Linked DNA regions of Homo sapiens: all the other regions are linked to region 1. The links are contacts of gene promoters, found by promoter capture Hi-C in blood cells and fetal thymus (Javierre and others, 2016). All regions are on one chromosome and are shown on one strand. The core of a region is centred on a gene start or on the middle of the fragment in contact, and the rest is flanking DNA. Distances in the headings are between cores, read along the strand shown.

What was found. The method cuts DNA at HindIII sites, captures the fragments that hold promoters and counts their contacts. A CHiCAGO score of 5 or more calls a contact.
Region 2: a fragment that was not itself captured here is called in contact with the fragment with the promoter of BCKDHB in region 1 in 7 of 17 cell types (neutrophils, monocytes, naive CD8 T cells and 4 more); the score reaches 9.7 in neutrophils.
Region 3: a contact is called between a fragment that was not itself captured here and the fragment with the promoter of BCKDHB in region 1, in 4 of 17 cell types (total B cells, neutrophils, total CD4 T cells and 1 more). The highest score is 9.5, in total B cells.
Region 4: a contact is called between a fragment that was not itself captured here and the fragment with the promoter of BCKDHB in region 1, in 1 of 17 cell types (neutrophils). The highest score is 5.5, in neutrophils.

Annotation. Positions count from the first base shown.
Region 1 is chr6:80,105,129-80,108,244 of GRCh38, reverse strand. BCKDHB (branched chain keto acid dehydrogenase E1 subunit beta) reads right to left here and starts at 1,574. Exons shown (of 10, transcript NM_183050.4): 1 at 1,356-1,574. The coding sequence starts at 1,551. RefSeq lists enhancers at 1,232-1,311, 1,278-1,778 and silencers at 1,362-1,461, 1,492-1,691. The HindIII fragment of the contact is 20,612 bases long and covers 1-2,057 here.
Region 2 is chr6:81,735,852-81,738,967 of GRCh38, reverse strand. No RefSeq gene overlaps it. Among named protein-coding and RNA genes, the nearest start is that of TENT5A, 15 kb to the left of the region's middle. The HindIII fragment of the contact is 6,057 bases long and covers 1-3,116 here.
Region 3 is chr6:81,716,332-81,719,447 of GRCh38, reverse strand. No RefSeq gene overlaps it. Among named protein-coding and RNA genes, the nearest start is that of TENT5A, 35 kb to the left of the region's middle. The HindIII fragment of the contact is 2,697 bases long and covers 135-2,831 here.
Region 4 is chr6:81,695,280-81,698,395 of GRCh38, reverse strand. No RefSeq gene overlaps it. Among named protein-coding and RNA genes, the nearest start is that of TENT5A, 56 kb to the left of the region's middle. The HindIII fragment of the contact is 7,622 bases long and covers 1-3,116 here.

The DNA.
Region 1 (3,116 bases), core at 325-2,824:
ATATCTACACGCATCTTAGTACATTGTTTAGAATGGAAGCTCTGGAATCTGATCAATTAGATTCCAAAGCTGGAGCTTTGGAGCTACCACTAACTTACCTGTGTAATCTTGGTCAAACTGTCTCAAGACTCCATTAACCTAACTGCAAAATGGGAATAAAAACTTTACTAACCTTTTAAGGTTGTCCTAACCCTTAAATGAGATGATGAAACATACACACAGCACCTGACCCTGGTAAGCACTCAATAACTGTTCATTCTTATCCACAAGACACACTTCCAAAAATGTCAGCTCTAGCATGCACATGAGAAGTTATTAGACAAGGAAGCAATACATGTTTCCCTACAGTTTCCTGATATTCTGAAGAGAGACACTGGATCTGATATTCTGATGAGAGACATTACATGAAACTTGCAGAAATGGTAAAAATCATGCAACAGTCATACTATGAGGAGTTTGCTACATGCCCTTCCTATGGCTTCCTCCTCTCATCCCCTTCACCTCCTTGGCTAAGTGGCAGCATAGCCCAGGACAAGCTCAGTACTAAGCTCAAGTAGAAAGTCTGAATTCTTTCACATCTCTAGGAAGGACCTGTTCTGTGACCTTGGGAAAATCAGTTCAATTACTCAGAATTCTGTAGGTAAGAAGAAACCAAGGGACATATATACATATATGCATATATATATGCATATATATGTGTGCATATATATATATGCATATATATATATATGCGCACATATATATGCATATATATGCGCGTATATATATCCACACATATATATATGTGTGTGGATATATACACACACACACACACACACACATACACACAATTTCTGTATGTAAGAAGAAACCAAGGGACTGAGTAACTGAATTGATTTTATATACATATATATATTTTATATATAATATATATAATATACATTTAAAATATATATATATAAACATATATATATATCTTTTAAATGCCTCTACCTAAGCTAGTGGCCCAGTCCTGGCCAGGCTGGAACAACACCTAAGGCCTGGGTTGAGAAAGCAAGGACGGAGGACAGAGAAAAGGGAGGCGTTCCCTGGGCACCACCCCTCCACCCTCAGGCTCTTCCAGGTGGCAGTATGCCCTCTCACCCATCTCAAAGTTGCGGGGGAGGGGGGACTGCGTCTCGAGGGCTGAACAGTCACAAAAATAGAGCAAGAAGTGAACCACAGTTAGACCCTGAGGCAAGGAGGTTCCAGAGAGTCAGGAAGTTAATAAGCTGGGATGCAAGGATTGCAGCCTGCCGGCCCCTGCCCCTCGCGGGCGCCTGCGAGCCTGGGAGTCCGGGCTGCAGCGGGACCGAGTGGGCAGTCCCAGGGCTCACCGTACTCCCGGGGCTCCGGATCTGGCTGGAAAGTAAAATGAGCCACCTGCCGCCTCTGGGCCGCATCCTCGACAGTCGCGGCGGGGTGCAAAAAGCCCCGCGCCAGCCCCGCGCCAGGAAGCCGACGCCAGTGCCCCTCAGCCCCTGCCGCCCTGAGCCTGAGTAGCCAGCCGGCAGCCGCCGCTACAACCGCCATCCCCGCTCACCACCGGGATTCTCAGGCTATGCAGCCGCACGCCGCCTGCGGGGAGGGCGGAGCACCCGAGGAGGCTTCCACATTGGTCGGGCCAGAGGGGCGGTCCCATGAAACAGACCAATCGGAACTGGAAATTTAGGGGCGGGGAAGGCGACGTGACGAGCTGGTCGGCTTCTGCTCCTTGTGCGCATGCGGAAGAGGGGAAGTGTGGGCTAGAGGTGGCGCCAATGAAATAGTTTCTGGGGTGGAGCCTCCCCGAGGTCGGCCGTGCGGTCCTCGGGTGAGGACCCGAGTTTGCAAAGTTCCACACAGTGCCTGGAGGCGATCTTTTCCGGTGTCATTTACAGTGCCATTTCCAATGGTTTAACATCCATACTTTTTTTTAAATGTAACCCTTTTTTATCCTGTCCTGTCTCTATTATTGTGTGAGAGGTGAAGAGAGCTACTGATTGGCATTGGTTATTGTTTTGACTTTCGAAAAACTGCTGTAGTCACTGCTCAAAGCTTTCACTCCTTATTCACACCCTCCTTAAAATGCTTAATAAGCATATATAGATTTTTATTGATTTCGTTTTTCCACATTTAAATGAGAGATGAAAGAGGTAAACTTAGATTTCATCCTGCAAATCCACTGAATAGGAATTCAGATACATTTTGCCCAGAAGTAGCAAAAATTACCTGATTGGCTTAGTCTAAGTAGCTTAGAAACCTGGAGAATTTGAGTCACTAATTTTCATTTATAGTAATCAACTATGTAAATTTGTTTTAATCTAAGTGTTTACCAGGATACATTCTCTGTCCATGAATTTACTAAAAAAAAAAAAAAGCACATAAAACATGAAATATCATAAAATCAAATATGACAAGAGACAACAGAGACAGTGTGTCCATCAGATGAAAATGGGAGGGTGGGGAAGGATGGTCCCAAAACAGAATTTGAAGAAGAAAGTGGGAGTGGAGGAAAAGAACATTCCTCTTCCATTATGCCTTGCCTCTTAACCCATCTTTGGTTTTGCACAGGGGCAAGGGAGGAGAGGGTAGAAATGGGGCAAAAGGAGAGGCAGAGAAATGTGTTTTCTGACTGAGATTAAGAAACAGCAATTGAAAACTGCCAAAGGGAGAACCAGAATTATGTCTCCATTTTTCCTACCCCCACACTAAGTCCAAAAATTCAACATTGGGGAAATTTTTTATCTTGGCTTTTGTTAGTGTTCATTTCTGCTGTTTTAATAGTGTGGGGTAGAGTGTTTTGCATGTGCATGAAGGGTATTTTTGTTTTAATGAAGGAAGGGGTAACAAAATGAAATTACATTTACATAGTCAAATTTGGGTTTAAACTAAGGAGAGTAAAGAACAAGGATAAAAATGAATAGAGCTTTTTTTCTATTTGTTGATAGTTTAGGGAGCTGGGGGTACTGAGATTATTTAGGTCGGGGAGAAAAAGAGAAAAATAATAACTGATGAGAATTTTATTGAACCTCTGCTACGTACAACCCAATGACAAGCCACCATTGAGACAAATAAGATCAAGGCATAGTTTTACTTCTAAAATGTCCAAGGTGGTA
Region 2 (3,116 bases), core at 392-2,891, 1.6 Mb before region 1:
ATATGTTACCATCACACTTGTCAGTACCTGAAACTGTATTATAGATCAATTTCTTTGTTTATGGTTTGTCACCATAGAATGAAATTCCATAAAGGCCACAAATTTGTCTTATTTATTACTATATTTTTAGTGTTTGAAATAGTGCCTGCTACCTAGGAGGTGCTTGTTAAATTTTTGTGAGTTAATGAATGAATAAGTCTCATTTGATTCAAAATGAAAGGTGAGGTGAAATATTGGGAACATATCAAAGAAGATGTTAAAATGGTGAAGGAAGAGTCATCAGGAACACTGTTGAAATAAGAGAAGGATCTTAGAGATTGCCTGCTTGTTGAAAAAGAATGGAGGAAAACCCAGGTGGAGAAATTCCAATTTTGAATCAATTTAGGAGCACTGAACAGTATGAAAGAGATATTCTCAGCTGAGTTGTTTAGGGCAGGGGTATTTGAACGAAAGAACCTGTTGCCTCTTTTTGATTCCTGAGCTTGAGGAGTTGAGAACAATGGGTAAACAATGTTTGTTGTGGCATGGTACTCAGGGACATATCTGCTAGCACCCATGGATCTGTTATCTGTTCCAAACCAAATCTGGCAGCCTGGTAAAGTGAGGATTCCAGTTGTCTTGGGTAGTAACTACACTTTCTTTCTTTCTTTCTTTTTTTTAAATCATCTGCTACATTTCTCAGAACTAGGGAATCCCTGAAAGAAATTTTCAAGACATAGAGCACAAAGACTGGATCTGTTTGTTATATTTTGAGTAAGAATAGAGGCTACTATTCAGGAAATGCACTTTGTTATTTGAGGAAGGGAAATGTAGAAAGGGCAGTCTGCCCATTAGCCTTTTCTAAAAAGCAATCAGTATTTCCAGTGGCATCCTTAGCTGGTCAAGCCTCATAGAACAGTCTTGCCCTGGGGCATTATACCTGTTGTGCCCATTTGTTATGGGTTTTTCATGAGTCTCCCAATTTCAGAATGTTGCCGTGTTGTCAGACCTTGTGCCTGCCATGCTATGGCATGTTGTCACAATAAGGCTTCTGATTTTAGGTGCCGTTTTATAATTATTGAAAAAGTTAGGTATGTGACAAAGTATGCTGGACTTCATAGATAAAACAAAGTCTACAAAAAATTTTAAAAATTAGTCTCTAATTTTTGCTACTTGTATATATTAAAACCAATGTGAATTCTCTGAATCTTGTCCAGAATTTCAACCTACTTAACCCACGTGATTCACATGAGAAGGGAGGCTAGGAGGGAGATGGATCGAGAAAAATGAAATAGGAGGATGTATTTCACAATAAATAATGAGAATTTTATGTAAAGTTCCAATTAGAAAGAAGGTAGATTTAGGCCTTCTAAATAAACTTAAGGTTTCAAGAACCACTTGAAGAAATCTGTAAAGAGGAGGATATCAAGAGCAGGAGGATATCTGAGCTATACACAGTTGTAGCCCAGATGAAGTAGTACAGGCCCCAAGAAAAAGAATGGTTATACAATGTGACCAATACTTCCCAATGGAAGGCTTTTCCATATAATGTATAACAGAAGTGGTACACATTCATAGCAATTTGATAAAACAATTATATTTTCCAGTTAATAGTCACAATAATCCTGATAGGTACAAAAGGTATTACAATTATCCCACTTTTAAGTTAAGAAAAATGAGTTCTGGAGTGTCTGAGCTTGTATGTAAGACATAAAGGCTTTTGGAACTCATTCAGTGATTACACAGAGAGAGTCTATTTCTGCCTGAAACACACAAGGTAAATTGTGTCTTTAACAACCCATCTCCTATCAACCATCTATCCAAAAGGCAGGTGCATCATAACAGCACAGTAAGTAGAAGGTTCAGGAAGAGCATGAGAGCTTTTCTTACAGAAAGAGATCACATCAATTGCCTATTGTGAGTGGATTACCTTGTGAAAAATAAGCATGATTTAAATTTTCAGTTGACAGTCAAAATTCAATAAACTACTTCGGTGTTGTCAAAGCTGTTTTCTGTATTCATATTACAGAAAATGGGCCACTTAATCTTTAAAAAGTGATCAATTAGTCTAGCCTACATCGCTTCTTATTGGCAATGCATGCTACCAGGTGGCTGCTTTTGAATCTTTAAAAAAAATTAAAGAAAATGTCTGAAAGGCAAGGTAAAGAGTATAATGAGATATGCTAACTTCTTACAAAATTCTGAATAAACTCATGAAACTCCTAAAATGTTAATTAGTCCTCTTGTGCTGTATGCTTATCACACCTGTTTAGTTATGCCACCACAGACATGTTCCCTGGAATTCTTATTCTAGTCTGTGACTTCTAGTTAATGATGTCATAAGCCTTTCTCAGTACATAGTGGCACCAAAATTCTCTTGTCACTTGGTACATAGTTCATAGGGATGGGAGCACAGAGAATCAGGTTAGTGGGCCTGGATTTTAGTTCTGAACTTGTACTAGTTCATGCATTTCTAAAACTGTACTTAAAGAAACACATGCATGCCCAGGCCCACCCTTAGCCATTTTTATATAGTCAGACTTGAGTGAAGCAAAAATACCTGTGATTTTCACAAAGTGTTTCTGAAGCACAGCTCTGCTCAGAGCCCTTGCTTTACAGGTTCCAATAGTGTCAAATCTATGTCACTTAGCCTGAATCCTCTGGAAAGCCGAGCCTGAAGCAATGATTATGATTCTAATAGTTTATTTTCCAGATACAATCACATCACAGGATGTTGAGGTAAGGAACAGATGTAATCTCTTGCAACACAGTGTGCTACCATGCTGGCTACTGCATCACAGCCATAACACAACATATCAGATAATTCAGCAGGCTTGTTCAGTCAGCAGGAAGGAATTATCTAGAAGGCTTGAAAGGAAGCACTGTACCTGGGAGTAGTATGCAGGGGAGAGAAAGGAGAAATAATTGCCTGCTTGCTTTCTCTCTGTCTCCCTTTTCCCACTGGTCAAAATTCACTCTGGGTAGAACTACCTCTTTCACATTTCTAGTTGCTTCATCTGGTCCTTGAGTAACTGTGCAGGAATGCAAATTTTATGTCCTGTAGGGTGATGCTTCATTTAATTCCAAAGGTAGGGTTGATTTGGCAACATATGGGGTTCTGACTAAGAAAGAGAGGA
Region 3 (3,116 bases), core at 234-2,733, 1.6 Mb before region 1:
TTAGATCTCCTCTTAGCTTAGCTTTGGGTTTCTTGACTCCTTCCATTTGGTATATCTTGTTTATTCATACTAAATGGCAAAGTGTTAGAAAAGTGAATTCCTCTGCCATATTTGGTTCCTTGAACCTCAAAGCTTCTTAGAGAAATGCTGATTCTGCTTTCTCAGGAGGAATAATTTTCCCAGCAGTATTTCCACCAACTTCTTCCTGGATAAAGAAAGATTTTTAGGGTTCTCCTTGAAATAAAAATGACTTGAACCAAAATTGATTGAATAGATTAGGGGAGTACAGGTATATCTTAACAATCAAACAGATATGTTAGCTACCAGTTCTTTACAAATGGTGTGGAAAAGAAAAAATGGCTGTGAAAAGTTAGGCTGTGAAAAGTTAGGTAGCTGAGCTAACAAAAGATAAATGCTCTGGAACACACGTGGTTCTTCATAGTCAAATAATCAGAGCCATTTAGACATGTTGTCTTTGGAAAATAAAGAAACACTCAACTAAAAATATGATCAACAAATATTTCTTGAGTATACACCAACCAAATAATAAGTTAGATGAGTTTCCTCATAGAATTCCCAGCCTAGTGGAGGAGATAAACTGGGTGATAACATAAAAGTCATAATTCCTCCCATGCGATCTTACAAAGTGATTATCTCCACCAATCTCACTCCTAAAGTCCAAGATGCTCCTGTTTAATAGTGTCATTACCAACATGAGATATGCTTTGAAGAAGGAAAGGCAAAATAAAATCATATTTACAGTTTCTTTTACCAAAATGGAAATCAGCTTGAAAGAGTTCAGTAAAACTAAACATGAAATTGAAAGTTATAGTTAATCCATAAATTTGGTAACTGAGAGGATAACAGTAGAGTAAGGAACATGGAAAGAGTATGCAAAAGTTGAATTAAGTAGACTTATTTATAGAACATTTGTGTAAAATAGAAATAAATTGTTCTTATCAGAGAGGGGAAAAAAATTCTTACCGTTGAAAGTCAGATCCATGACTCAATTTTTGTAGGTTTTTATTTCCCCTCTCAATCAGTTTTTTCCTTTCATTGTCTCCCTGAGGTTTGCTAAAAAGGTCATCCAAGACATATGGTTTTCTTTTCTTATTTCTTCCCTCATTTGGGGATGTTCACAACTAGGTTTATTGGGCAATATTCACTTATTCATAACCTACTAATCTTTCCTTTGTGGTATCCTCTTCCTTCAGAGGATTCATGATATTTTTATAAAGTTTAAAACACCATTTTTTTCCTAGACTCCTGAAAGAAATATTGTCAAAAAATAGGGGTTATTAGTAAAATAATTAATTACTTTTTCACCAAAGGTTCCATCCTATATTACCCAAGAATATATTTCACGTATTTTATGGTTAGACGATCATAGTCCTGATCACTATATCTTAAGTATTGACAAGTTTTTCTTATTCAAATAGACATTTACTTCCTCGTGATAATTGTTTTAAAGATGACTTCCTCCTTCACATTTGTAAAGAATGATTATCTAAATGTCATCTGTTTAGTAGTGCTAATATTATATTTTAGTGCTTCTTTTGAATGCTTAGCCTTTAGTATTTTATAAGCTGAAGACGGCTCTTATGCAATTGTTTTTACCTGTTAAGTCACTATTTCCACATTAATAATAGGGTAAAGATATCAGGCTTCAGTTTAGATTATGAAAGTTCCTAATGTCTTTTCCACATTGACTTCAAGCAAGGAGAAGACTTCCTCTCTTGTTTTCATGGGAATTTTATGAATTCCAATATGTATATTTTTCCAGCTGTAGTATTTTATTTGCAATTGGAAATTACCAGTTAAGATACCACTTTTCTTATGAAAAACTGTTGAATACCAAGTCCTAGCAGTCAAAGCTGATTTCAGCTACTCTAGTGGTATCATTTTTTTCATGTATAACTTAGAATTTTTAAAAATTCTCTTCAGTTATTTACATTGACACTTCAGGGTCAGGGAAACATTAGGTTATGTTTTTTTTTCTCATATTAACTACCTTTTTGTAAGTATAATTACCTTTTTTGTTATATGGCCTTAAGTAGATGAGTAAGACAAATGAAAACTCTTGACTAATATTATTAAAATGAAGCCATTTAATTTGATACCTGTCTTAGATTGCAAGTGAGATTCCTTGATTCAAAATGTTTTTGTGTCCAGAAAATACTCACTGGTAATTCATTATAGCAGCAAGTCTTTATCTTTGCTTCATCTCAGGAAAATTATTTCCCTATTATGCATTTGACAGACTAGCTCAAACTGACATGCAGGATGAAATGAAAGGTTGTGATGCTCACATGGATTTTTGGGGTCATGTGAGTTTATATTACTTCATGCTTACATTTTTATAAATTTTTGAAGGTGAGCCTGTATTTCTCAGATTTAAATGTTTGTCATGTTTCTCTCTCACATCCTTAGATATCTCCATTTGAAAAGTAGCACGTTACAGGTATCATGGAACAATAAGCTAAAAATAGGTATAGCTTTTTCTCAAACAACACCTTATTTTAGTTGTTGTTGAGGAATTTCTTTTTGTTTCCAAAAGAGGAGACAGTGTTTTTTTTAGTGGGGTGGGGCATGCTTAAGTAGGAGTCAGAATATTGGTATGGGTCAGCTCTGCCACTAATTAGTTAAGAGGGTCACACCACCTAATCCCTGAGCTCAAGTTCTTTGTCTGTAGAGTATGAGGCAGGATGAATGAATTCTGAAGTTTTTAGTGGGGTGGGAAATGACCTTCTTTTCTCTACCTTTATGTACGGTTATTCATTTATATGTTTTTTTCACTGACTTTGTGGTCAATAAAGTCTATTAGAGAAGCTTCCTGGAAATTAGGAGGGTTAGAGTATCTGCCACTCCAGAGAACCAAATTTTGAAATTCTCCCTATTCTGAGCATCCTCTTCTTTGAAGGAACCAATCAAAAAGTTCCAGGGACAGCTATTAGATTGTAAGCCAGCTTGCAGGAGTTTATGATAGACATTCCAATCTTCAACACTGGAAAGGAATAGCCTTTATGAATGTTTAGCAATAGCAATTTAATTGCACCCCAAAGGAAGTTGCATTTAGCATCTATACGCAATGACACGATGCTGACTGAAATGGAATT
Region 4 (3,116 bases), core at 283-2,782, 1.6 Mb before region 1:
ATACATGGGTGTTAACTCTGTGTACAATTATGATGAACACTTTTCTGTGGGTATGTAGTTTTTAAAATAAAGACAATAGAAAGTTTATTTACAAAATTAATGAAAAGGGATCATTAATGTATGATTTTGTCACAGAGATTTGCACCTGTGCAAAGGCCTTTGACAAAAGTCCTGTGGTTAAGTGCATCCAAAAAGATAAAGGTAGAAAGCCTAATTATTAATGTCCACTTTTCTCTTGTGAGAGGATCTACAGAAAATAAGACCACCCTACATAAATATGAACAAAAAATCTTCCTGGGGCTTCAGAAGAATCTAATTGGTTCTCAGAAAACATAAAGGAAAATCTAATTGGTTCTCAGAAAACATAAAGGAAAATCTAATTGGTTCTCAGAAAACATAAAGGAAAATCTAATGCACCCCTCAGCAGGGCTTGGGTTTTCCAAGTCCTATGAGAGGGTAACAGAGTCTTCTGGTCATCTCAATTCCAAGGACAAGGCACTCGGGTGACCCCGAAATCAACAGTATAGGCAGGAGGAGAAAGACAGACCTGATTTGAGAATGTTTTCTTTTAATACGTACTGACCTCAGTGACCTTTGAGGGCTGTCAGAATGATGGCCAGAGGAAGCATTGGAGCATATGCTTACTCATTATACATGAATGTTAGTCCGGAGAACTCACAGGGGTGGTTATAAAATGTCCTCAGATCACTGTGGGCCTCTTTCCAATGACATGTCAAGCAGCATGGGCCTGAGCATTTCGTACTTACATATGTATACACATGTATACATGCAGTTTGTGAATGTATTCAATGAACGATTAAGGGGGGTCTGTTTTGTGCAAGTCATTTGTAGAGAAGGCAAAATGGGCCTAATGCTGCTGTTGGCAATTAAATATATTTTGAATTCTCTTGGGATAAAATCTTGCTACCAATATTTTTTTTAGTGCCAAAAATCTGCTAGTGAAAAACTGTATGGTCAGTTAAGTCCGGAAAACTAGACTAGAGCTCCTCGACTGCACTCCTCACAGTTTATGTACTTTATGCCAAGAGAAGTTAAGTTCATTATCTTCTAGGATATTTCTAAGTATTAATGTACACAAGCAGAAACAAACACTGCTTAATTTTCTCTGAAACTAGCTGATGTGCATTTACAATAGGAAGTCTTCCTCCTAGAAGAAATTAGAAAAAAAAAAGTTTTAAACAAGAATTTTTATTTTGAAAAGGTAAATTGCAGAAAGGTTTAAGAAGAATCACTGAAGTGCATGAGGAAAGTATTTGAAATAATTCCAAATTATTAAAAGAACAGAGTACTTTTTATTACTTTGCCAAAAGAAAGATTATTTTGTTGTTTGAACGACTTGACTCATTAAAATCTACTTATATAGGTGATGAATTTTTTTGGGTGAAAAGTTCTCAACTTTTAGATAGAGAAATATGATAATTCTTTGAATCCATCTGTCCATGAGGTAGGAGTCCGTGAAGAAGAAATTTTAGCCTGAGTAATATGTTTCATCTATGAATATTGAAAACGAACCCTATGAGGCCCACATTTAATCTACATTCACTGAAAACACTTGTACCTTTTACACTCTGCTTATTCATGCAACTGGATTAACTAAATACATAAGCTGCTGCTTTCAGCTCTGGTCCTCCTGTTTTCTGCTGGTAAAGGTCACACTGACTCATACATGAAACCTTTTGTTTATATCTCAGAGGTAGCTGACCCCGTTGCACCTGCTTTTGAATATCTGGCAAGAGACAGGCTTGCAAATGAATATGGCTCTTTCAAGAGGTTGCTTATTTTAAAATGAAATTAGCATTTCCATAGGTGCCAAACCACTGGCAGAGGAGAATGGAGACCTCTGTGTAAGTGAAGACAGGTATATTGTGGAATTGTGGCAGCATCTGCATGTTCATCTTACCCTATAAATAATGCCTCTAAACGATTGCTGAATGAATGAACAAATGAACAAAATAGTTATCTTTGACCCTTTTTACCTAATTACTAACATTTTATTTTGTTTATACAGACCTATTCTATAACTATGTAAAGGAGGAAATGTGATTTAAGCACTTCCCTTTTTTTCATAATACCCCTTACCCTTCCCCAAATATCAACCATGTATGTTACATGGACTAAAGTCATTACTGTGACAGTAACTGATATTCAATCAGTATAATTAGCTTCCTTTTGTGGTAACTAGTGCTCAGATCTTTCAAATGATATGGAAAAAATCAGAAGGGTATACCAGATTGAACGAGGAGGTGGGGAGGCACTGAATGCAATACTATGAGGTTAGATTTCATTCTGTGATCCAGTGAAGAACGAGTGGATATCTGGGAAAGAATACCATCAACAGATGTGTACACTAGGAAGAAAGTTGTGGTGACCATAAGTGTAACTGATTGGGAGAGATTCTAGAGGCAGGATGTTCAGTTCAGAAGTCATCTCAGTAATACCAGCAAAAAGACAATCTCTGTTATTAGCTGTTAGGATAATGGTTACCCTTATGGGCAGTAGAGACTGAGAGAGATTACAAAGGGAGTCCTAGAGTGCTGGTGAAATTCAGCTTCCTGATCTTGGTTTTGGATATTTGGATTTATTCACTTGCATATATCCATTGCAAATAAAGATGTATATTTTGTGTGTCTTTCTGTATGTATACTTAATAAAAAAAAGTGTAAAGAAAAATAATGACACCTGAATCACTGCAGTGGGAGTGAATAGCATAAGGTCATTTGCAGAGACAGAATACCACAAAGATTTGCACAATTACTGAAAGAGGAAAATAAAGGAGAGAAGAAAATCAAAGGTGACTTTGAGATGTCTTAGAAATAGAAGATATTTCATTTATACTATTAGAAATCTCATGAGGAAGAACTTCTTTTTGGAAGGAAGTTAATGAGTTCAATATTGGATATTTGAGATGCCAATGAGATAGTTAGATAGGACTAACAAATAAGCAAATGTGAATGTTGCTTGGAGCTCAAATGAGAGTTAAAAATGGAGGTTATTGGAAGTTATACAGACAGAAAAATCAGTTGAAATAGTAAAAATAAGGAGATCCCTAAGAAAGTAAGGAACAAAAGAAAATTGAGCACTAAACCTAGAAAACC